3 separate regions of the Homo sapiens genome follow, and regions 2 and 3 are each linked to region 1. The links are contacts of gene promoters, found by promoter capture Hi-C in human tissues and cell types (Jung and others, 2019). All regions are on one chromosome and are shown on one strand. The core of a region is centred on a gene start or on the middle of the fragment in contact, and the rest is flanking DNA. Distances in the headings are between cores, read along the strand shown.

The links. Contacts are between HindIII fragments. The study calls those that stand out against the background at their distance.
Region 2: a contact is called between the fragment with the promoter of PDGFB here and the fragment with the promoter of APOBEC3H in region 1, in 2 of the 25 tissues and cell types used here (mesendoderm cells and thymus).
Region 3: a contact is called between a fragment that was not itself captured here and the fragment with the promoter of APOBEC3H in region 1, in 2 of the 25 tissues and cell types used here (spleen and stomach).

What each region holds. Positions count from the first base shown.
Region 1 is chr22:39,095,367-39,100,056 of GRCh38, forward strand. APOBEC3H (apolipoprotein B mRNA editing enzyme catalytic subunit 3H) reads left to right here and starts at 1,878. Exons shown (of 5, transcript NM_181773.5): 1 at 1,878-1,977. RefSeq lists enhancers at 1,000-2,199, 1,522-2,409, 1,740-2,079, 2,410-3,296. The HindIII fragment of the contact is 18,686 bases long and covers 1-4,690 here.
Region 2 is chr22:39,243,732-39,248,113 of GRCh38, forward strand. PDGFB (platelet derived growth factor subunit B) reads right to left here and starts at 1,251. Exons shown (of 7, transcript NM_002608.4): 1 at 170-1,251. The coding sequence starts at 232. The HindIII fragment of the contact is 11,810 bases long and covers 1-4,382 here.
Region 3 is chr22:38,918,977-38,923,140 of GRCh38, forward strand. LOC105373032 (a long non-coding RNA gene) reads left to right here. Exons shown (of 3, transcript XR_938256.2): 2 at 2,200-2,574. Among named protein-coding and RNA genes, the nearest start is that of APOBEC3A, 37 kb to the right of the region's middle. The HindIII fragment of the contact is 3,556 bases long and covers 1,057-4,164 here.

The sequences.
Region 1 (4,690 bases), core at 628-3,127:
GCCCCAACATTTAGGACAGATAGGGTGGAGGGGATGCCATTCCCAGGAACCTTCTAAATTCTCACCCAAGCTCCTGTGACCCCAGGGGCCATGCAGGGTCTAGAGGGCTGTCAGGGTGTGCAGGGCGGGAGGATATGGAGGGACAAGCTGGGCAAGGTTCAATGGGACTCCTTGGTGTGGAACCTAGACTCCGCAGTGACTGCCCCTAGTCCTCGCCCTTGGGATTCAACTTTCCTAGGGGTTCTTTGGTTTTTCTTTTTCTTTTCTTTTAGACAGAGTCCCGTTCTTGTCGACCAGGCTAGAGTGCAGTGGCACAATCTCGGCTCGCTGCAACCTCTGCCTCCCAGGTTCGAATGATTCCCCTGCTTCAGACTCCTGAGTAGCTGGGATTACAGATGCCCGCCACCACGCCTGGCTAATTTTTGTATTTTTAGTAGAGACGAGGTTTCACCGTGTTGCCCAGGCTGGTCTCGAACTCCTGACCTCAGGTCATCAGCCTGCCTGAGCCTCCCGAAGTGCTGGGATTACAGGCGTGAGCCACAGCACCTGGCCTGGCTCTTTGGTGTTTATGATCTGAAGGGTGTTGGTTGATATGCATGAAGACGAGGACATGGGTTCCAGAATGCAAATGTGAAGTCCAGGTCCTTCATCTCTGACCTGGGAGGCCCTTTAGGAGCAGTAAGTCCCCTCCCTCGTGTCTCCTCTCCTGCTCCTTTCCATGGAGCAATGAAGAACCTCAAAGTAGCTAGCTGTGGGGGAGAAGGGACACAGGAAGTCCTGGCCAGCACTCCAGCTCTGCTGTTGATTTGCTGTGTGACGTGGGGACAGTATCTTAGCCTCTCTGTGCTTGGGACCTCCTCTGACTGTCAGGATCACTGCCCTCCCCTCCCAGTGCTATCTGGGGACTGGGCTAGATAATGGGCACTGGATCCGCTGGAGATGCAGTCCTGAGCCTGACCCCAGTGCTCATTTCACATCAGGCTCAGGGTCCTGCCAGGAGGCTGAATGCCAAAGGTCAGTGGGGTGGTGGGGAGGGGGCTGCAGCCTGCCCTGTCCACCAGGGGAGTGGCATCTGGTCTATGGTGTCAGCCCTGGTCTGGATCCCTGCTCCTTTCTGTGGCTTCTATTCCTTTCATTTATTTTAGTTTAGTTTAGTTTTTGAGACGGAGTTTTGTTCTTATTGCCCAGGCTGGAGTGCGGTTGGCCAGGTTGATTTTGAACTCCTGACTTCAGGCAATCCACCTGCCTCAGCCTCCCAAAGTGCTGGGATAACAGGCACCGTGACCAGCCATCAATTCCTTTCTTTTTTCTTTCTTTTTTATTTTTATTTATTTATTTATTTTTTGAGACAGGGTCTCGTTCTGTTGCCAGGGTGGAGTGCAGTGGTGCGACGTCGGCTCACTGCAACCTCTGCCTCCAAGGTTCAAGCAATTTCCCTGCCTCAGCCTCCCAAGCAGCTGGAACTACAGGCGCAGGCCACCAAACCTGGCTAATTTTTTGTATTTTAGCAGAGACGGGGTTTCACCATGTTGGCCAGGATGGTCTTCATCTCCTTACCTTGTAATTTGCCCACCTCAGCCTCCCAAAGTGTTCGGATTACAGGTGTGAGCCACCGCATCTGGCCTTTGTTCTTTTGTAAACTATACCTGGGGAGGGAGTTGAGTCTGGCTGTACCTGGAGAGGGAATTGGGGGTGGGAGGATGGGAGGTGAGCCACCTCCATCAGACTTCCCCTGCCAAGCCCGAGGAAATAGAGAAAGAAAGGAGCCTGAGGGATCTGAAGCACCCCAGGGCCCTCCCACTCCAGTCCCACAAAAGGAAGAGGGTGGAGCCACCCTCATCAAGCAGTGACTTTTTGTGACTTTTGGGAGAGCTGACCTTTTGTGACTTTTGGGAGAGCTGCCAAAAGTGAAACTTAGTGCCTCAGACAAGCAGGGGCAAGTCTGCTAAGGAAGCTGTGGCCAGAAGCACAGATCAGGTACTGCCGCCCACTCTGTCCACTGGGCCCTCTGCTGCCACTTCCTGCCTGGCAGCCCTTCTGTGCCTCAGCCCTGGCCTCCCGCTGCCCCAGCCCCAGCCCTGGGCTCCTTCTCCTCTGGCTCCCCTGCCATCCCCACTCCCACCCAGGCTCTTTGCCCTGCTGTGTGGTCACCCCACTGCTGCTTCTGAACGGGCCGCCTCCCCGGCCTGCACCAGCCCAAGACCCCTGCTGAGACTCTCCCCTAAGAGTCATGGCTGGGCTAGTGCTCCCCACCTTGGGAGGGTGCTCTCTCTGTGTGCTTCCTGCCATTCCTGGGCTCTGGAACTGGGAGAACTGAACTAAAGGATGATGGGAGCAATCTGGAATTTTGTTCACAGTGCTTTGATGAACTTTGTGTAAGATTACTTTGTTTCAATACAAAGTCTTAGGAGAGGGTGTGGGGAGGCAATGATCTCTGAAGCACAAGGCAAATCATCTCTTCCAAGGATGTCTCCACTGTGGGCAGAGGAGGATGCAGATGACCCTGAACACACACTCCTCCTCCATGATCAGTATTCACATTCACCGTTTATAATGACACCAGTAACACGGAATATACGGAAAAACTCAATGATCAGGAGAAATGCTTTTATTTTAAAATTTAGGAAGAAGAGAGCCTGGTTCCCAAAGGCTCCCTCCTGCAGGGCCCGTGATGCAGAGGCTGGCAGGGCTGGCCAGGAAAGTGGCCCAGCTCCATGGCCTGGGCAGGTTACCCCACCTCTCTGCACCTCTGGCCCCTCCTCTGTAAGATGAGAATGGCCCCTGCAGGCCTAGGGCAGCCTCACGTGAGCTCAGATCCTCTCAGCACTTAGAAGAGTGGCCTGGGCCTGGGGATGGAAGTGCTACCCTGATTTTTTGTTTCGTTTTGTTTTTTTGAGAAGGGGTGTCTCAGTCTGTTGCCCAGGCTGGAGCGCAATCTCGGCTCACTACAAGCTCCACCTCCTGGGTTCACGCCATTTTCCTGCCTGGCCAGGCAAAATGGCTCATGCCTGTAATCCCAACACTTTGGGAAGCTGAGAGGGGAGGATCATCACTAAAGGCCAGGAGTTCCAAACCAGCCTGGGCAACACAGGGAGACCCCCTTATCTACTAAAACTAAAAAAATAAAATAAAATAACATGAATAGGTAAAATGCCAGGAATTAATTGAACTGAAATATTAAGAGCTCTTATTTTGAAGGGGAGAATTTTATTCACTTTTCTTATTTTTAATGGGTTAGAGGATGGGTGGCAGAAATACTGGGAGGATGGGAGATCCATCCCTGGAAAGACCAGAGCTAGGGCCCTGAGCTGGGAGAGGTCACCCCGGCCCTGCTGCCCCTGCCAGCATCTCCTTCTCTTCTCCTCTCCCTGGTCTTCCTGCTTGGGAAAGCTGCAGAAATTCTCAGGACTTGGAGGCTTGAAATGCTCAGGGGTTTTCCAGAAAGCAGAATAGAAAGTAGATGGGCAACCATCAATCAGACAGGCCAAAGAAAAGGAGCTCAGGCCCTCGGGGAGACAGGAGGTGAGCGCATGGGTCACAATCCTGGCGGGGCGCGGTGGCTCACGCCTATAATCCCAGCACTTTGGGAGGCCGAGGTGGGTGGATCACCTGAGGTCAAAGGAGTTCAAGACCAGCCTGGCCAACATGGTAAAACTCCATCTCTACAAAAATACAAAAATTAGCCGGGCATGAAGGAGGGCGCTTGTAATTCCAGCTACTTGGGAGGCTGAGGCAGGAGAATTGCTTGAACCCGGGAGAATCACTTGAACCTGGTAGGTGGAGCTTGCAGTGAGCTGAGATTGGACCACTGCACTCCAGCCTGGGCAACAGAGCAAGACTCTCTCTCAAAAACAAAAAAAAAGCAAAATCCAAAATTGAATCCTCTGTAGAATGTAATCACAATTCAGGAGAGCAAAATCTATGTAATTTCTTCAGCCAAAAATGTGTCACAACACTCCCTTGGTGACAACAGCTTTTCTGTTCACTCAACTGTGTTCTGTGCAGACAAACTTGTCAAACACACACCTGAGCAAAGAGCACAGTGCTGGAGGAAGCCCCAGTTTCCACCCCATCACTCCCCAAGGGGAAGGGTTCTGGTATTGGACATGTAGGGGTCGAGAGGCCTGTGGACCTCAAGGAGGGGGTGTCCAACTGCAGCTGGAAAGAGGGATCTGGGACTCAGGCCAGAGGCGTGTGAGCAGCTCAGAGCAGCTCTGAGCCCAGGGGAGCCAGAAAGGCACACCCACAGTTCTCAGGCAGGGGATCCCCACCCAACCCAGGAAGAATAGTGACGAGGTCGGGGCATCCCCATGCAAAGAGCCTCAGCTGTGGGCAGCAGCCGGTGCCCTCCCAGGTGGGAGGATGGGAGATAGCAGACAAGGTGGGAGGGAGCACTCCCCTCCTCCTGTCCTCCTGCCAGCCCTTCCTTCCCCTGCTCCACTGCAGTCCTCCTGGCCAACAACTAAAGGGGAGACCCTCCCTCACCAAGGGGAAGGGCCCAAATGAACAGAAAGGGTTGGGTTTGGCTGGGCGCAGGGGCTCACACCTGTAATCCCAACACTTTGGGAGACCAAGGTGGGTGGATCACCTGAGATCAGGAGTTCGAGACCAGCCTGGCCAACATGGTGAAACCCCGTCTGTACTAAAAATACAAAAATTAGCCAGGCGTGGTGGCAGGCATCTGTAATCC
Region 2 (4,382 bases), core at 1-2,500, 150 kb after region 1:
CTGTCACCCCCGGACCTCGCTCCCAGCCCGAAGAGGTCACCCAGCGCCCGGCGTCAGGCTCGCGGGCTGCAAGGGTCCAAAGTTCACTGCAGGGAGAGGAGGGGGCGGTCAGAAGGGGGGGGCGAAGGTAATGAATGAAGAACCAGCCCCAGCCGCCGTGGCAACTCACCTCGGCGCTGACCAGACGCAGGTAGCAGCAGAGAGACAGGAAGAGCGCCCAGCAGCGATTCATGCCGACTCCGGGCCCGGCCCCGCGGGGCCCCGGACGCGTAGATCGAGCGCGCCGCCCCCGCGGCCAGGGTGGGGGGCTGGGGAGGGGGGTGGGCTCGGCTCGGGTCCGCGGCGATCAGGCGCTCAGGCCTCTGCAGCCGCGGCTCACCCGCATGGCCCCCGGGCGCCGCCGCCCCCGGCCCCGGCTCCGTCGCTGGGGGGCAGGGGAGGACCTGGGCGCAGGACCTGGGTCCGAGGCCGCTACCTGGGCGGATCCCGAGCCCGAGTGAGCATCCACGGCCGGGGGGCTGCGTCGCGAACCAGCCGAGGCGTCTAGCCGTGTGGGGGCGCCCAGGGGACTCCAACCTCCAAGAGGAAAAGGAACACGGCAGTCGATGGTTCGTCTTCACTCGCCGGCTACAGGCGTTTTCCTCTGCCCGCCGGCTTAGCTTTTTTGCAACATTTTCTGGAAAGGCCCCCAAAATCGGAAAGCGCGGAGCTGGGCACCTCAAGGCCCAAGTCTCCCCCAAAAAACTTTTTCCAAAGTTGGCTTTGCAACGGCAGCTCGAGCACCCGGGCAGGGAGAGGTGCAAACTCCCGCCCGGGCCGGGTAGGGGGGCGGGAGCGTGTGCGCCCTGGCGCGGGGCCCGGGCGGCGGGCACGGCTGCTCCGCGCGCGCGGCGTGCCCGCTGCGCGCTCGGCTGGGCCCGGCCGACAGGTGGACGCGGCGCGAGTCCGTCGGTCCGTCTGCCCGCCCGCTCGCCGCTCTGGGCGTCCTCTGCGGGCTGCGGGCTGCGAGCTGCGAGCTGCGAGCTGCGGCTGCTCCGGTTTTCTCTTTGCAGCGAGGCTGGAGGGTGGGCTTTTTTTTTTTTTTTTCCTTTTTGCGCGCGTATGTATGTGTGTGCGCGCAAAGTATCTCTATCTAGGGAATGAAAAATGGGCGCTGGCGGCCGGAGGGGAGCCCTAGGGAGGCAGCGGGGGAGGCTGCGGGTGCGCAGGGAGGCAGGCAGGCCGCTCCCGGCTGCAGGAGGAGAAGTTGCCACCCTTTCAGCTGTTCCGGCCTTTATAAAGGAGAAGGGAGAGTGCGAGAGGTGGGTGGAGACAGCCTTTCCTCTTCTGGCCCGGAGTCAGCGCCAGGAGGGGGGGGACGCGGGAGCTGGGGGAGGGCTTGGGGCCAGGGCGGGGCGCTTAGGGGGTCTCTGAGAGCCGAGCAACCCTTCAGTCCATGAATCTGGCCCTGGGGAAAAAAGAACTAGGGGTGACCCACCGTCCCGCCCCTCAGCACAGTGACCATGGACAGGTTAGGAGCCCACGTGGTCTAGGGGGATGTCTCCAGAGCCAAGGCCAGGAGTCCACGCTCCCCTCCAGGACCAGACATTTCCACCCTGGCACAGGCATGGCAGGGAGGGACTCAGGCTCTGCAGTCTGAGAGCCTGAATTCAGATCCTGCCCTGGCACTCGGGAGCTTGGGTCACCTTGGGCAAGTCACTTCCCTCTGTCCCCTCCATCTAGCCTCAACCTGGAGATGGGGCTATTGTAAGGACTCAGTGTTAGCAAGGGAAGACACCGCAAGGTGAACCCACAGAACCCGGCAGCCAGCGCCCTTCAGCTGCAAGCTGGGTCCGAGTCTCCTCCTCCTAGCTGGTTGCCTGGCACAACAGGCCCTGCCAGCGTTGGCTGAATTTGAATTTGTTGAACTGCAAAGTCACACAAACCCCCACAGCCCTGCAGCATCTTCGCAGGGCTACCAACATGATCTTCCCGTCAGTCACCCTGCTGTTTACTATCTCCCTCAGCCCCCGGGTTCGAGGCCCAGAGCCCACCCACCCACAACCAGCCTTCACACAGTTAACGCCTTCTGCCCCCAGTCAGGGAGCTGCTGTGTCCCTGCCTTCAGCAGTCACACTGTCTCAGTCACAGTCACACGTACTCACACTGGGCCCAGCACCCCCCTCGGGACACGCAGGCTCCTGCATCACCCAGCCTCCCGGCTTTGAGGCACCCTCATCTCCTCCGCTTGCACTGTCTCTGTTATCCGCCCTTCCCTTTGGGATGTCAGCCTGCTTCTCACAGAGGAGCACACTGAGAGAGTCACACCTGCTCTCTCTTCATAGACTGTCTTCTTGGACCTGGACAGGGTGGAACAGAGGAGGAAGGACATCTCAGGTGGTCTTTACAGACCACTGCAGGCACCCACCCACTGCTGCCTACCACCCAGCAGCGTGGCACAGTGGCAGAGACACAGCCTGAAGACACATCACCTTGGTCCAAATCCTGGAGTGGCCACTTGCTGGACAAGTGTCTGCAGGAAGGTTTTTTAACCTCTCAGTACCTCGGTTTCCTCCTTTATAAACTGGAGATGAATTTATAAACTGGAGCTGGGTGTGGTAACAAGCTCCTGTAGTCCCAGCTACTCAGGAGACTGTGGATCGTTTTGAGCCCAGGAGTTTGAGGCTGCAGTGAGTTGTGACTGTGCCACTGCACTCCAGCCTGGGCAACAGAGCAAGACCCTATCTCTAAAGAAATAAAAATAAATCTATAATGGGAAGGAGTGAGAGAGAACAGAGAGGCATGGCAAAATTTTAGTGGTGATGGAAATGTTTGTCATTTTTGATTGTGGTGATGGGCTTATGGGTGTATACGTACATCACAACAAAATGTGTGCAGTTTGTTGTACCTCAGTGCAGTTGTAGAGAATTTTTACCCTGCTCCTGGAGTGGTCTGGAGGCTCCCATGAGGTCCTCCATGTGGAGGCGCTCAGCAAAACACCTTAGCAGGAAGCAAGCGCCTGGAACCTTCCATGCAGCCTTCAAGTTCACTGGTGGCCCCGCACTGCTCCAGGCACTGGGGAGACAGGTGTGAACCAGCCTAATGCAGGCCCCTGCCTTTGAAGAGCCCCATTGAGAAGGACAACCAGATGTATAAACAGATAAATTAGGAGACAGGGTGACAAGGGAGATGGGGCAGCGGGACGAGGAGATAACCCCCAAACACTAGATTTGAAGTCTAACGACTCAGAGATAAAAACCCTCTTCCACCGGACAGCTGGGTCATTTGACCTTGACCTTCTGTGTCTTCTATAAATAGAATGGTAACAACTACCATGATTAGTGAGCTGACTATGTGGTAGCTAGTGTTTTTCTTACTCTACCTGTAGCCTCTCCATGCTCCTGTGAGATGTGTTATTCCTATCTTACAGATGGGGAAATGGAAGCACAGAGAGGCCAATACACTTGTTCAAGGTCACACAGCCCGTAAGTGGTAAGGCCAGGACTTGAATCTGAGCAGTCCAGCTACAGAGCCCACATGCTGAGACCACCGTGCTGTGCAATTTTCTGGCAGGTGATGCTGATGACAATGATGACACTTTTGACACAGCGCTTTGGTGAGCGCCACATGCATTAATATGTGGGAACCTGCTCTGCCAGCTAAAAAGTGATGGACCCATATGAACTCTGACTTAGGTACAAGTTGAGGGAGAGGGAAGGCTACTCAGAGCAGCATCGTAGAACGCCTACTGTTTGCAGACCCTGTGTGAAGCGCTGAGAAATGGAATGAGGAAGGAGTCCCAGCCTCGGCACTCAGGGACTTCCCATGCTCTCAGTGAGATAGACCCAAATCATTGCAGTGCAGGTGCCAGTACATGGGTTAGAAGTGGCAGAAGAGGGCCCAGCAGACACCTGGGCCTGAATGCTACGTGACACCTGCGTGACACCTGGGCCTGAATGTTGTGCTAAGGGCTCCTTTCTTGTACCTTCTCTGTGCAGAGGAACAGTCTGTAAAGAACACCTCCCCAGGCACGGTGGCTCACCCCTGTATTCCCAGCAATTTGGGAGGCTGAGGCCAGAGGATCATGTGCAGCCAGGAGTTCGAGACCAGCCTCAGCAACATAGCGAGATCCCATCTCTTAAAAAAAATTACCAAAAAAAAAAAAAAAAAAAAAAAAAAATATATATATATATATATATATATATATATATATATATATATATATATATCTGAGTGTGGCCCCAGCTACTCAGGAGGCTGAGTCAGGAGGGAGAATCCCCTGAGCCCAGGAGTTCAAGACTGCAGTGAGCCATCTCAGAGACGGGGTCTCGGTCTGTCGCCGAGGCTGGAGTGCCGTGGTGCGATCTCTTCTCACTGCAACCTCTGCCTCCCAGGTTCAAGCG
Region 3 (4,164 bases), core at 1,585-4,084, 180 kb before region 1:
ATGGACATTGTGTTAGCAGGCAGGAAAGCAACATTCATCTCCTTGTGCATCTCCAGCAGAGCTCTTGGGTGACCAGGTGCATTGTCAATGAGCAGTAATATTTTGAAAAGAATATTTGAAAAGAATATTTTTTTCCGAGCAGTATATATCAACAGTGGGCTTAAAATATCCAGCAAACCACGCTGTAAACAGATGTGCAGTCATCTAAGCTAGAGCACTGGCAGAGTAGATTTAGCATCATTCTTAAGGACCCTAGGATTTTCAGAATGGTAAATGAGCATTGACTTCAACTTAAAGTCACCAGCTGCACTAGCCCCTAGCAAGATAGTCAGCCTGTCCTTTGAAGCTTCAAAGCCAGGCATTGCCTTCCCCTCTCTAGCTATGAAAGTTCTAGATGGCATCTTCTTTCAATAGAAGGTTATTTCATCTACATGGAAAACCTGTTGTTCACTATGGCCACCTTAATCAATGATCTTAGCCAGATCTTCTGGACAACTTGCAGCTGCTCCATCAGCACTTGCTGCTTCACCTTGCACTTTTATGTTATGGAGACAGTTTCTTTCCTTAAATCTCACGAACCAACCTCTGCTAGCTTCAGACTTTTCTTCCGCAACTTCCTCACCTCTCTCAGCCTTCATAGAATTGAAGAGAGCTAGGGCCTTGCTCTGGATTAGGCTTTCGCTTAGGAGAATGTCATGGCTGGTTTGATCTTCTATCCAGACCCCTCAAACTTTCTCCATATCAGCAGTAAGCCTGTTTCACTTTCTTATCATTCATGTACTCATTGGAGTGGCACTTTTAATTTCCTTCAAAGGCTTTTCCTTTGCATTCACAACTTGGCTAACTGCATAGTGGAAGAGGCCTAGCTTTCAGCCTATCTTGTTTCTTGACATTCCTTCCTCATTAAGCCTAATCATTTCTAGCTTTTGATTGAAAGCAAGAGATATGTGACAGTTCCTTTCACTTGAACACTGAGAGGCCATTGTAGGGTTATTAATTGGCCTAAATTCAATATTGTTACATCTCAGAGAATAGGGAGGCCAGGGCAGAGGGAGAGAGATGGGGAACAGCTGTTGGTGGAGCAGTCAGAACACACACAACATTTATCAACTAAGTTTGCTGTCTTATGTGGGTGTGGTTTGTGATGCCTGAAAACAATTACAGTGGTAACATCAAAGACACTGATCACAGATCCCTGTAACAGATATAATAATAATGAAAAAGTCTGAAATATTGTGGGAATTTACCGATGTGACACAGAGACCTGAAAGTGAGTACCTACTGTTGGGAAAATCATGCCAATACACTTGCTCGATGCAGGGTTGCCAAAAACCTTCCATGTGTAAAAAAAAACACAGCATCTGTGACTCAGTAAAGTGAATCCCAATTAAATGAGGTGCATCTGCACTCAGGATAAGTTATGCTTTCATCCCTCCTCTAAGGAGAGCAAAAGGGCTCAAATTTGAGGTCCAAGTATGTGTCAGGCATTTGATATTAGGGTCTTTCACTTAATTCTCATAGGAGATTTATCACAAATTTCCCAATCAAGATTCAGCCTCATAGAAGTGAGCCTCCTGAGTGAGACTCTGTGGCTCCTAAGTGGGGAATCTAGGGCTCGAACCCAGGTCTTGCTGATCCCATGTTTTTCTCACCATCACTGGATACTTCCTTCTTATGCAAGGAGAGAAATGCAAATTCTACAAAAGAAAAATGGGCTTGTGGTCTAGACAAGCATCTTGGTTAATGTCTGAGGGTCATGTTAAAAGCTTAGAAAGTTAGTTTTGTCTGCTGGGCATGGTGGCTCATGCCTGTAATCCCACTACCTTGGGAGGCCGAGGCGGGCGGATCACCTGAGGTCAAGAGTTCGAGACCAGTCTGGCCAACATGGTGAAACCCTGGCTCTACTAAAAATACAAAATTAGGTGGGCATGGTGTCATGTGCTTGTAATCCCAGCTACTCAGGAGGCTGAGGCAAGAGAATCGCTTGAACCCAGGAGGCAGAGGTTGCAGTGAGCTGAGATTGCACCATTGCACTCCAGCCTGGGCAAAAAGAGCGAAATTCAAAAAAAAAAAATTGGTTTTGTGATGGCAGCTGTTGCTAATCAGGGTATGGAGTCAGGAGCTTAGGTCTAGGGTTGAGCTCAGATCTCGACATGGACCAGGCTTTTCCCCTGTCTCAGTGCCTCATTTATGGTTCAGTTTCAGGCAGCAAAACTAATGAATGATTTCCAACCACAGAAGCCGTCACTGGGAGAGCCAATAAAGATACGACAGATCTGGCAGGAGAACAAGATCCAGCCCAGGTGATGGGGTGTGAGGCTTGGTCTTAGCTACAGGTAGGTCGTTTCCCTTAGCTCCTGGATGACTCAGCTTGGCAGCCACCCAGACTTCTATCAGGACCCAGAGGTGCTGCCAGCTCTGGAGCCATGTCAGGCCAGCTTTCTCCCCATGTCACCAGGGAATGGAGATTTTTCTGGTCTGCTGGGGCTTTTCCTAATTCTGCACGGTCGGCTTGAGACTGTCCACCTGTTGCTCCATCTAGGCTGCGTTGCCCTTATGAGCCGTCTTCACAAGGTACGTTTGGAGGATGTCAGGATGTCTTTCAAAGGATTTGTAGACATGCTTTAAAGTACTTACGGAGTCAATGTCCCCTTTGCTTCAAGCTTCTCTCCTACTGTAGGAAATAATGTCTACGGTGGCCCATTTCCAAGGCAAAGTGCCTCAAATAGGCTTGGGCCCACAACCTGCGGATGGACAGGATATACTAGACCCCTGCTGGTCAGGGCCCCCTTAGTTACCCCCACCCAAAGCAAAGCGTTTAGTCTAGAATGAAAGTTTACTAGCCTGAAAAATAGCTCACTTTATCTATTCTTATCAGCTTGCCTGGCCACCTGGGTCATAAGTCAAATACTTGAAGAGCACCTTAGCTGACTATGATTGCAGTGCATTATGGGCCACAACAAACTGCAGCGAGACAACCCTAAAGTAAACACCTAAAAGCCCCAACCCAACGACCAATAGGTGATGTCTGGGAAGATGGTGACCCCATGGTACTCAGCCTATGAGGAACCGGGGGAGGGACTTGCCTACTAGGGGATACATTGCTTGTTGTAACTGTACTGGGTGTGCCTGCCTACCAGACACCAGATCTTGCAAGACTGTCATTAAAAGTCTCACTTCTGGCTGGGCGCAGTGGCTCATGCCTGTAATCCCAGACTTTGGGAGGCCAAGGCAGGCAGATCCCCTGAAGTCGGGAGTTCAAGACCAGCCTGACTAACATGGAGAAACCCCCATCTCTACTAAAAAAAAACAAAAACAAAGAAAAAACCTACAAAATTAGCTGGGCATGGTGGTGCATGCCTGTAATCCCAGCTACTCGGGAGGCTAAGGCAGGAGAATCACTTGAACCCAGGAGGCGGAGGTTGCGGTGAGCCGAGATGGAACCATTGCACTCCAGCCTGAGTGACAAGAGTGAAACTCTGTCACAAAACAAAACAAAAACAAAACAACAACAACAACACAAGTCTCACCTCTGCAATTCTCTATGTCTCTAAGTTCATCCTTTGGGTTTGGACAGGTGAGCATGTTTCTCATATTACCCACACTGGTGGGCCCCGTAGGCTTCCTGGTTGGTCCAGGAGTGGATGCCTGATGCAGGCTGCACAAATCAGATTCTCTCTTCTGGAGATTTAGAATCGAGAACCAGTGGTTATCATAGGTTAGCCTTGGCTGTCAGACCTGGAAGGTGAGGAGACCCAGAGCTGAGGGTGCCCTTTTGGGACAGGTGTCAAATCCTTGTACAAACAGAGAAACCAGACTGACAAGGGGGTAGGATGAAGGAGCTGAAGGAGAAGCAGAGCCACAGAGGACCGGGCAGAGAGAGGGGCTGCCTTGGTGGGGACAGCCTGTAGACAGCGCCAACGACGTGGGGCTGGTGCTGTCCCCACTGTGGTCTCAAACACCAGACTAGTGCCCGGTCAGCACAGAGTTCAGGACAGTGGTGCAGCTGACACCCAGAAAGACACCGCAGTGGAAAGCCTGGCCTGACGCTCCCAGCTCTCTCCCTGCCATGCACTGACTCCATGTCCTGTGAGGAGGAGGTGGGAGGAGAGTTTTATTAGGGGAATTCATTTGTAATAATTGCCTAAGTATTTGCTACTTAGG